Linked DNA regions of Homo sapiens: region 1 is linked to region 2. The links are contacts of gene promoters, found by promoter capture Hi-C in blood cells and fetal thymus (Javierre and others, 2016). All regions are on one chromosome and are shown on one strand. Each heading gives the region's core, a stretch centred on a gene start or on the middle of the fragment in contact. The rest is flanking DNA. Distances are from core to core; before and after follow the strand shown.

Region 1 (3,852 bases), core at 240-2,739, 420 kb after region 2:
TGGAAGGAAAAACAATGTCTCATCTGATTTTAACAAAAATCTAATTGTGCAGGCATTTTAGACCTATTAATTGCCCTTAGGGTTACTGAGTGATTATCATGGGAGCAATGACTGTTGAGCAGGCATAACTTTTGTCAGCTGAATTGATTTTTGTGGAAGGACCTTGTCGGAGTCCATTCTTCATACTGGTTCTTCTGCCCTGAACAACTTTAATTGTTAATGATATCTGGACTGTGGCATAAGTCTGCTTTAGATATGTGTGTAGACAAACTTATTTCTGTTGGTAGCTTTGAAAATTGCCCTAAAGCTTCTTTAGCCCATATAAAATTGTTTACCAATTACCCTTTACCCTCAAATTGAAAAGTAGATATCTTTATAGCAGATGGAGAAATCTTTTATATGGAGGGTACTGTTTGCGATTTCATCCTGGTAGCAATAATTATAAAGCTAGCTATGAATTGAAATTATTTACTTGTTTTCCTGTAAAGCCTCATGAGGACAGGTTTGCTGCTCCTTTGGAAAGGTTTTTATTTTTTGGTCTAGTGACGCTTCTTATTGTACTTGCAAAGTCCTCAAAACTTAGGTCTGGCTTCCTGGATTCCCCCAGTGCTTTTCTGTCTTAGGCCGAATAGAAGAACTTGACCTTTCTTCCCTCTCATCTACTTTTGGTGATTTAGGTTCCCCTAATTTAAAAAGTATCTTCTGTGGAATTAATTTTGTTTGTGTATCTTGCAGGTACTACTCAGTCCTCTATCCACTGGAGAGGAAAATATCTGATGCCAAGTCCCGTGAACTGGTGATGTACATCTGGGCCCATGCAGTGGTGGCCAGTGTCCCTGTGTTTGCAGTAACCAATGTGGCTGACATCTATGCCACGTCCACCTGCACGGAAGTCTGGAGCAACTCCTTGGGCCACCTGGTGTACGTTCTGGTGTATAACATCACCACGGTCATTGTGCCTGTGGTGGTGGTGTTCCTCTTCTTGATACTGATCCGACGGGCCCTGAGTGCCAGCCAGAAGAAGAAGGTCATCATAGCAGCGCTCCGGACCCCACAGAACACCATCTCTATTCCCTATGCCTCCCAGCGGGAGGCCGAGCTGCACGCCACCCTGCTCTCCATGGTGATGGTCTTCATCTTGTGTAGCGTGCCCTATGCCACCCTGGTCGTCTACCAGACTGTGCTCAATGTCCCTGACACTTCCGTCTTCTTGCTGCTCACTGCTGTTTGGCTGCCCAAAGTCTCCCTGCTGGCAAACCCTGTTCTCTTTCTTACTGTGAACAAATCTGTCCGCAAGTGCTTGATAGGGACCCTGGTGCAACTACACCACCGGTACAGTCGCCGTAATGTGGTCAGTACAGGGAGTGGCATGGCTGAGGCCAGCCTGGAACCCAGCATACGCTCGGGTAGCCAGCTCCTGGAGATGTTCCACATTGGGCAGCAGCAGATCTTTAAGCCCACAGAGGATGAGGAAGAGAGTGAGGCCAAGTACATTGGCTCAGCTGACTTCCAGGCCAAGGAGATATTTAGCACCTGCCTGGAGGGAGAGCAGGGGCCACAGTTTGCGCCCTCTGCCCCACCCCTGAGCACAGTGGACTCTGTATCCCAGGTGGCACCGGCAGCCCCTGTGGAACCTGAAACATTCCCTGATAAGTATTCCCTGCAGTTTGGCTTTGGGCCTTTTGAGTTGCCTCCTCAGTGGCTCTCAGAGACCCGAAACAGCAAGAAGCGGCTGCTTCCCCCCTTGGGCAACACCCCAGAAGAGCTGATCCAGACAAAGGTGCCCAAGGTAGGCAGGGTGGAGCGGAAGATGAGCAGAAACAATAAAGTGAGCATTTTTCCAAAGGTGGATTCCTAGCAAGGATTGTAAATTCTTGGAAGCAACGGGGAGCTTCCATATTCCCACCAGAGTGTGGGAATGCTGTGGCCATGTGATTGTATGATCTCCTTGCAACTCAGTGTGAGTTGATTCCTCCAATATGGGCCAGATGCTTTTGAATGATAGGGAAATCTACATAAAATCCAGTGTCCTCTTTATTGAGGGAGTATATGTATCCATCTCAGTGATCCATGTCCTTAGTGAAGTCCACATTATTCTCTGTGGGGACAAGAGCTGGGCAGTTTTGAATGGGTCTTGAGGTGGGTACCCCATGTGCACTTTCTGAGGATGCCTCACTTCCCTGGGCTCTGCAGAGAACACACAGAGAGAAGACTTTCAGAGCTCACAGGAGCAGGGAGCAGGAGCACTCTAAGGGAATTCCAAGATCATGATGGAGCATGGTGGCTCCAGAGAAAATGCCTGTTTGATGAACTTAAACATGTCAAACATTTTCTGTTGAGAAGGTAGGGATTTGGTGTCTTACACTGTTTCTCTGGAAGCCCCAGTCATATGACTCACTGTTTCTCCTGATACCCTTCGTCCCTTTCATTGGGATGTAGGTAAGGAATGACGATTCCTCACCTATGGTACACATGGCGATAGATGTGCCCGGGAGTAAGGGAGATATTTTGTCCTTGATAATTCTGATTTTCCCTTGGCATCACCAACGCCTCAGAGAGATACACCTGCACCCTCCAGTCAGGGTCAGTGTTGGCTGGAAAACACTGAAAAGTCTTCGCTCTGTCTTTCACCTTAAATTGTGTTTTCTCAACAAATGAGAGAGAAGCTTACGGGGGAGATGCCTGAGAGATGCCTATGGCGCTGTAGTTTTTTTTTCTTCCCTATGATCTCACATGAAAGGTGCTATGTAACAACCAGTATGAGTCAAATATATTGAAAAAATCATCTTATGCAAACTTTAGGAATTAAAAGGTATTTTTAAAATGGAGAGTTAGTGTAAGCTGGGTCCTTTGGAAACATCAAACTGAAAAGGCCTGATTTGGAAAGGTGACTCTGCCCAAAAGGTTGGCAAGAATCTGACAAAGATGGTTTCCTTCCGAGGAAGACTCCGGAACTCAGGTGTGGCCAGTCTCCTTTTCAGTCTGTTTGTACAGCTGCGGTTCTCTCTTAATTTTGGACACAGAGGAGGAACAGAACAGGGAGAAATAATCATTGTAGAGTGCCAAGGCAACATCTGACCCAGATGAGCTCTTCACTTCCTCCTTCCCTGTCGTTGTAGAGCCAGACTGGGTAGAAGAGGGAGGGCAGTGTCCTCAACTCATCAGCCTCACAAGCAATTTGGGACCCCTCTGGGGTGGATTTCACCAGGTTGAATTAGAACCGCAGATAATACTTCCCTGTTAGTGAGGACAAACCAAGCGCCAGCTCTGCCCTTTTCTCTAGAGTGTTGTGTTCTTGCTCTTGGTACTTACAGGAGCTAGTCTGGTGCCTTGAGCAAGCTTGAAGGGAAGTGGGTGTCCTCACCAGCAAACTTCCACATCTCAACTCGTGCCCTCTTTTGGCCACACTGGCCCCGTCTCTTGGAGGGAGCCCAGACCCTGTAGGGAGTTTTGTTTTCCTTTCTTCTCTTGGGTGTGGTGTCTTGTGTTTCTGAATGTGAACCCAAAGACCCTACCCCTGGAGAGGAAGCACCTTCCTCTTTGTGTTGGTCTCCTCATAGCACTGTTTGCTCACAGCAGAAACGGGGCTGCCACAGCCTCCTGCGGCTCTGCTGCCTTCTGGGCCCTGCGTGCATGGCATCTATAGCTCCTTGCCCTGATAGTCAATGCTGTGGCCCTTCAAGCTTGTCTTTCAAAGCTTTCACAATCATTACAACTTTTATCAAGGGGAATAATAATCTCTAGGAAAATTATGTCCACTTTAGGAGAATCTGTCAAGTGTAGCCACTTTGGTGTTGTTCTGATAATATACTGTATATGTACAACTTAATAAATTTTGATGAGGCAGAATCT
Region 2 (4,314 bases), core at 1,011-3,510:
AGTGCAGTGGCGCGATCTCAGCTCACTGCAACCTCTGCCTCCCAGGTTCAAGTGATTCCCGTGCCTCAGCTTCCCAAGTAGCTAGGATTACAGGCATGTGCCACCACACCCAGCTAATTTTCTTGTATTTTGAGTAGAGACAAGGTTTCGCCATGTTGCCCAGGCTGCTCTCAAACTCCTGACCTCAGGTAATCTGCCTCGGCCTCCCAAAGTGCTGTGATTACAGGTGTGAGCCACCATGCCCGGCTGACTTAGTAAGTTTTATGAGCAGGCTTGAGGGAGTACTAAGGTTCTGAGACCAAGCAGTGCTTATTAAGAGACCACTTACTTCTTCTCCAGGAGAGTCAGTTATCTGGTTTGGTTCTATCCACTTATTAAATAAAAAATAGCCTAAAATTAGCATATAGTTTAGAAATGTAAGTCTTTTCAAAGGATGCTTATTAACTTTTGGTAATAATTGCTATTAAAAAGGAATTTAGGCCAGACACGGTGGCTCACACCTGTAATCCTAGCACTTTGGGAGGCCGAGGCGGGCGGATCACAAGGTCAGGAGTTCGAGATCAGCCTGGCCAACGTAGTGAAACCGCATCTCTACTAAAAATACAAAAATGAGCCAGGCATGGTGGCGCACGCCTGTAATCCCAGCTACTCAGGAGGCTGAAGCAGGAGAATCACTTGAACCTGGGAGGCAGAGGTTGCAGTGAGCCGAGATCATGCCACTGCACTCCAGCCTGGGCAACAGAGCGAGACTCCGTCTCAAAAAATAAATAAATAAAGAAAAAGGAATTTAAGGCTAACACCAATTAGTTAGAAAATTATTCTCATGAAATGCTTCTTTTCACATATCTAAACAGGGAAGCTTCCATACTATAGCTGTAGTCTGGAAGATACAGCTAGATTCAGAATGATGTCCTGAAGTCTGAATAGTTTTGAATCTTATTTTTAGTAAGCAGTTCCTTTTTCCTGCACTAGCTGCTCTGCTGATACTCTAATGAAAACTGGCTGAAACTACTGGAACCATGGCATTTGGATTAAAAAACTAAGGCTGCCAAAGCAGAGATAGCACCCAAGAGAAACAGAAAATTATTGGGACAGGCAGAGACCCTGACATTCATCAATACTTACTCAGAAATATTTTGGCTAAGTTTCCAGAAGGACCCATCCCAGAAGACCTGTAGGTGTTCCTTGAACAATAGTAAATGTGCTAAATCTGCTATACCAAACAGGTCTACCTGAAATCACAAAAAGCACCATCAGCTAAAATAATTCTCTGCCTCTACCATGGCAGCTTATTTCGGTAGGAAGTTGAAAGGTATTACAGTGCTTAACTAAGTTTATTTTATGACATACATTTTAGTAGACTGTTCCTCACCCTTACAGTAAAGGGAGAAGCTCTCCAAAGAAGTGATCAATAGAGCCAATTCTAGGAATTATCCTTAAGAACAAAAGATGAAATATTTGGACTATCACATTCAAATTTGTAGACCTACTGAGTTTGCATGAACTCCAGCTGTGATCTAAATGGGGTCCACATGATTAGTTCAGGTTTGTGCTACATATTCAATCAGCAAATGTCTTATGTCTAAAGCTGAGTTAGAAGGAATTTCTGCATATAATGCCACCATACAAAAGACTTTACATTTGTGCTAATGTTCTTTTTATATACATTACTTCATTTACTCCTCATAACAATTCTGATAAACACATAGCAGAGACTGTTATCCCTATTTTACAGAGAAGATCACAGAAAATGACTTATAAAAGATTACATGGGTGGTAGGCAGTAGGAGTGGCCCTGGCACTCGGTTACAGAGTTAGTCATGTGTTTGCACATGTATGTGTATATTCTTCAATGCTGTAACACAAAAATGTTACATTTTACTTGACTTGGTGATATTTGAAAACTAGGTCATCTATTCTAGGAGTCGGTATCAGTAAACAGTAGCTTTTATAGCTTATCTAGATAATAAAGAGATTAAGAAACCCTCTCCATATTTGCTCAGGCTTGTTTTACACTTACCTGGTAGGGAGAAGAACAGTTAGCCAGGATCTTTTGTCCTTCCAGGATCTGTACAGTCCGAAAGCCGCTGAGGGTAAAAACATCCAGCTGCACCCTAAGGTCAACACTGTAGGAAAAGTCCACTATCTTCAAAGCTTGATTGTTCTTGTTACAATCATAGGGATCGTGGATTCTGAGCCCAGATTTAAGAGAAGGAGATAATAAAAATAGGCCATGAAAGAAGCTGCATAGCTGGTCTTTAAAAAAAAAAGGTACCTTGGGTACATCTTAGCTATGCCAACAACTCCCTCCAGTGGTTAATTTTGAAAATGCACCTGTAAGACAGAGCAGTGGCAGTGTCCACCCAATGCGGAAGGAATGTCACCACTTTGGTGACACAAAGTATATTTCAATCACGGTGCATGGCCACCATTAAACATTTATCAAGCTTCCATATTATATAAAGTAAGTATGGAAGCAGAGCACAGGCTTCTTCCCTGTACTGTACACATTAACACATACAATTGCAATGATTTATACACTGACAGGAATTATGATGGAGGAAATTAAAATTTTATAGGTGTCATAGCCTTTCTTGTTTACTATTCCAGATAGGCTTTCCAAGTATTGTTTAGATTCTTCCTTCCAGAGTTTAATGGAAAACAATGCAAGTCTGTTTTATAAAGTCCTATCTGTATTGTAAAATTTCTTGTAAAACACCATATTTTATCTTACTCTTACTTGTAATTCCAGTTATTTACTAAAAAAATCTTTATAATACTAATTAATTATCAATTAATTTTGTTTTCCTTGGGTTTATCTATCCTATGCAATAATGCTATTCTCCAAGGGGACATAGGAACTGTTTATAAATGAAAAGAGTGGGTTTTCATGTGTTCCTTTTGTCTGTTTTTCTCAATTAATTCCCTCAAACTCCTGATATTGGTGCAATATTCCTAAATACAGTCTTTAACTACTCCAATTACATACCTCCACGGCACAGAATGATCTATGTATTTTACTTTAAAATTGATAATTGCTCTCATTTTTCCTTGGCACAAGAGCCAACCTTTTTTGGCCACCATAAAACTATACTATAATTAAAAAAAAAAAAAAATATATATATATATATATATATATAGTATATATATAGTTATAGGGATCGTGGATTCTGATATATATAAAATATACATATGTATTTTATATATATATGTAAAGTGTGTGCATGTGTGTGTTTTGTTTGGTTTCTTAGACAAGGTCTACACTCTTGTCACTGAGGCTGGAGTACAGTGGTGCGATCTCAGCTCAGTGCAGTCTCTGCCTCCTAGGTTCAAGCGATCCTCCCATCTCAGCCTCCCGAGTAGCTGGGACTACTGGTGTGTGCCACCATGCCTGGCTAATTTCTTAATTTTTTGTAGAGATGAGGTCTCATTATATTGCCCAGACTGGTCTTGAACTCCTAGGCTCAAGTGATCCTCTGCCTTGGTCTCCCAAAGTGCTGGGATTACAGATGTGAGTCACCATGCCCAGTGTAATTGTAAAATATTTATATAACTTTGGAGGCATAGGGAAAAAATGTCTCATAGATTAATAAAAAGAAGCATGCATGAAGGTGTCCTAGCCCTCTAATCAGCTACTCACTCACTGTTACTTTGGGTAGGACATTCCATTTTTTTGGATCTCATTTTCCTCACAAAAAATATGCAGAAACTAAAGTAAGCAACTAAACTAAGCAATTTCAAAAGGTTCTTTCTGGCTTTTATTTTATTTTTGTAGAGACAGGGTCTTGCTATGTTGACCAGGCTGGTCTTGAACTCCTGGCCTCAAGAGATCCTCCTGCCTCTGCCTCCCAAAGTGCTGGGATTGCAGATGTGAACCACTGCATCCAGCCCTTTCTGGCTTTTGTTGTTGTTTTGTTTTGAGATGGAGTCTCGCTCTGTCACCCAGGCTGGAGTGCAGTGGCATGATCTTGGCTCACTGCAAGCTCTGCCTCCCGGGTTCACGCCATTCTCCTGCCTCAGCCTCCTGAGTAGCTGGGACTACAGGCACCTGCCACCACGGCTGGCTATCTTGTTGTATTTTTAGTAGAGACAGGGTTTCACTGTGTTAGCCAGGATGGTCTTGATCTCCTGACCTCGTGATCCGCCCGCCTCGGCCTCCCAAAATGCTGGGATTACAGGCGTGAGCTACTGCGCCCGGCCTCTGGCTTTTTTTTTGAGACAGAATTTTGCTCTTGTTGCCCAGACTGGAGTACAATGGTGCGATCTCAGTTCACCACAACCTCTGCCTCCTGAGTTCAAGCAATTCTCCTTCCT

The links. Contacts are between HindIII fragments. The CHiCAGO score rates a contact against its expected background, and 5 or more counts as called.
Region 1: a contact is called between a fragment that was not itself captured here and the fragment with the promoter of BUB1B-PAK6 in region 2, in 4 of 17 cell types (naive B cells, total B cells, naive CD4 T cells and 1 more). The highest score is 13.6, in naive B cells.

The regions. Positions count from the first base shown.
Region 1 is chr15:39,799,138-39,802,989 of GRCh38, reverse strand. GPR176 (G protein-coupled receptor 176) reads left to right here. Exons shown (of 3, transcript NM_007223.3): 3 at 736-3,852. The coding sequence ends at 1,858. Among named protein-coding and RNA genes, the nearest start is that of FSIP1, 18 kb to the right of the region's middle. The HindIII fragment of the contact is 2,359 bases long and covers 310-2,668 here.
Region 2 is chr15:40,215,374-40,219,687 of GRCh38, reverse strand. BUB1B-PAK6 (BUB1B-PAK6 readthrough) reads right to left here and starts at 2,260. Exons shown (of 10, transcript NM_001128629.3): 1 at 2,021-2,260. BUB1B (BUB1 mitotic checkpoint serine/threonine kinase B) reads right to left here. Exons shown (of 23, transcript NM_001211.6): 21 at 2,021-2,192; 22 at 1,126-1,232. All of the region lies in intron 1 of LOC107984763 (a long non-coding RNA gene), which reads left to right. The HindIII fragment of the contact is 293 bases long and covers 2,157-2,449 here.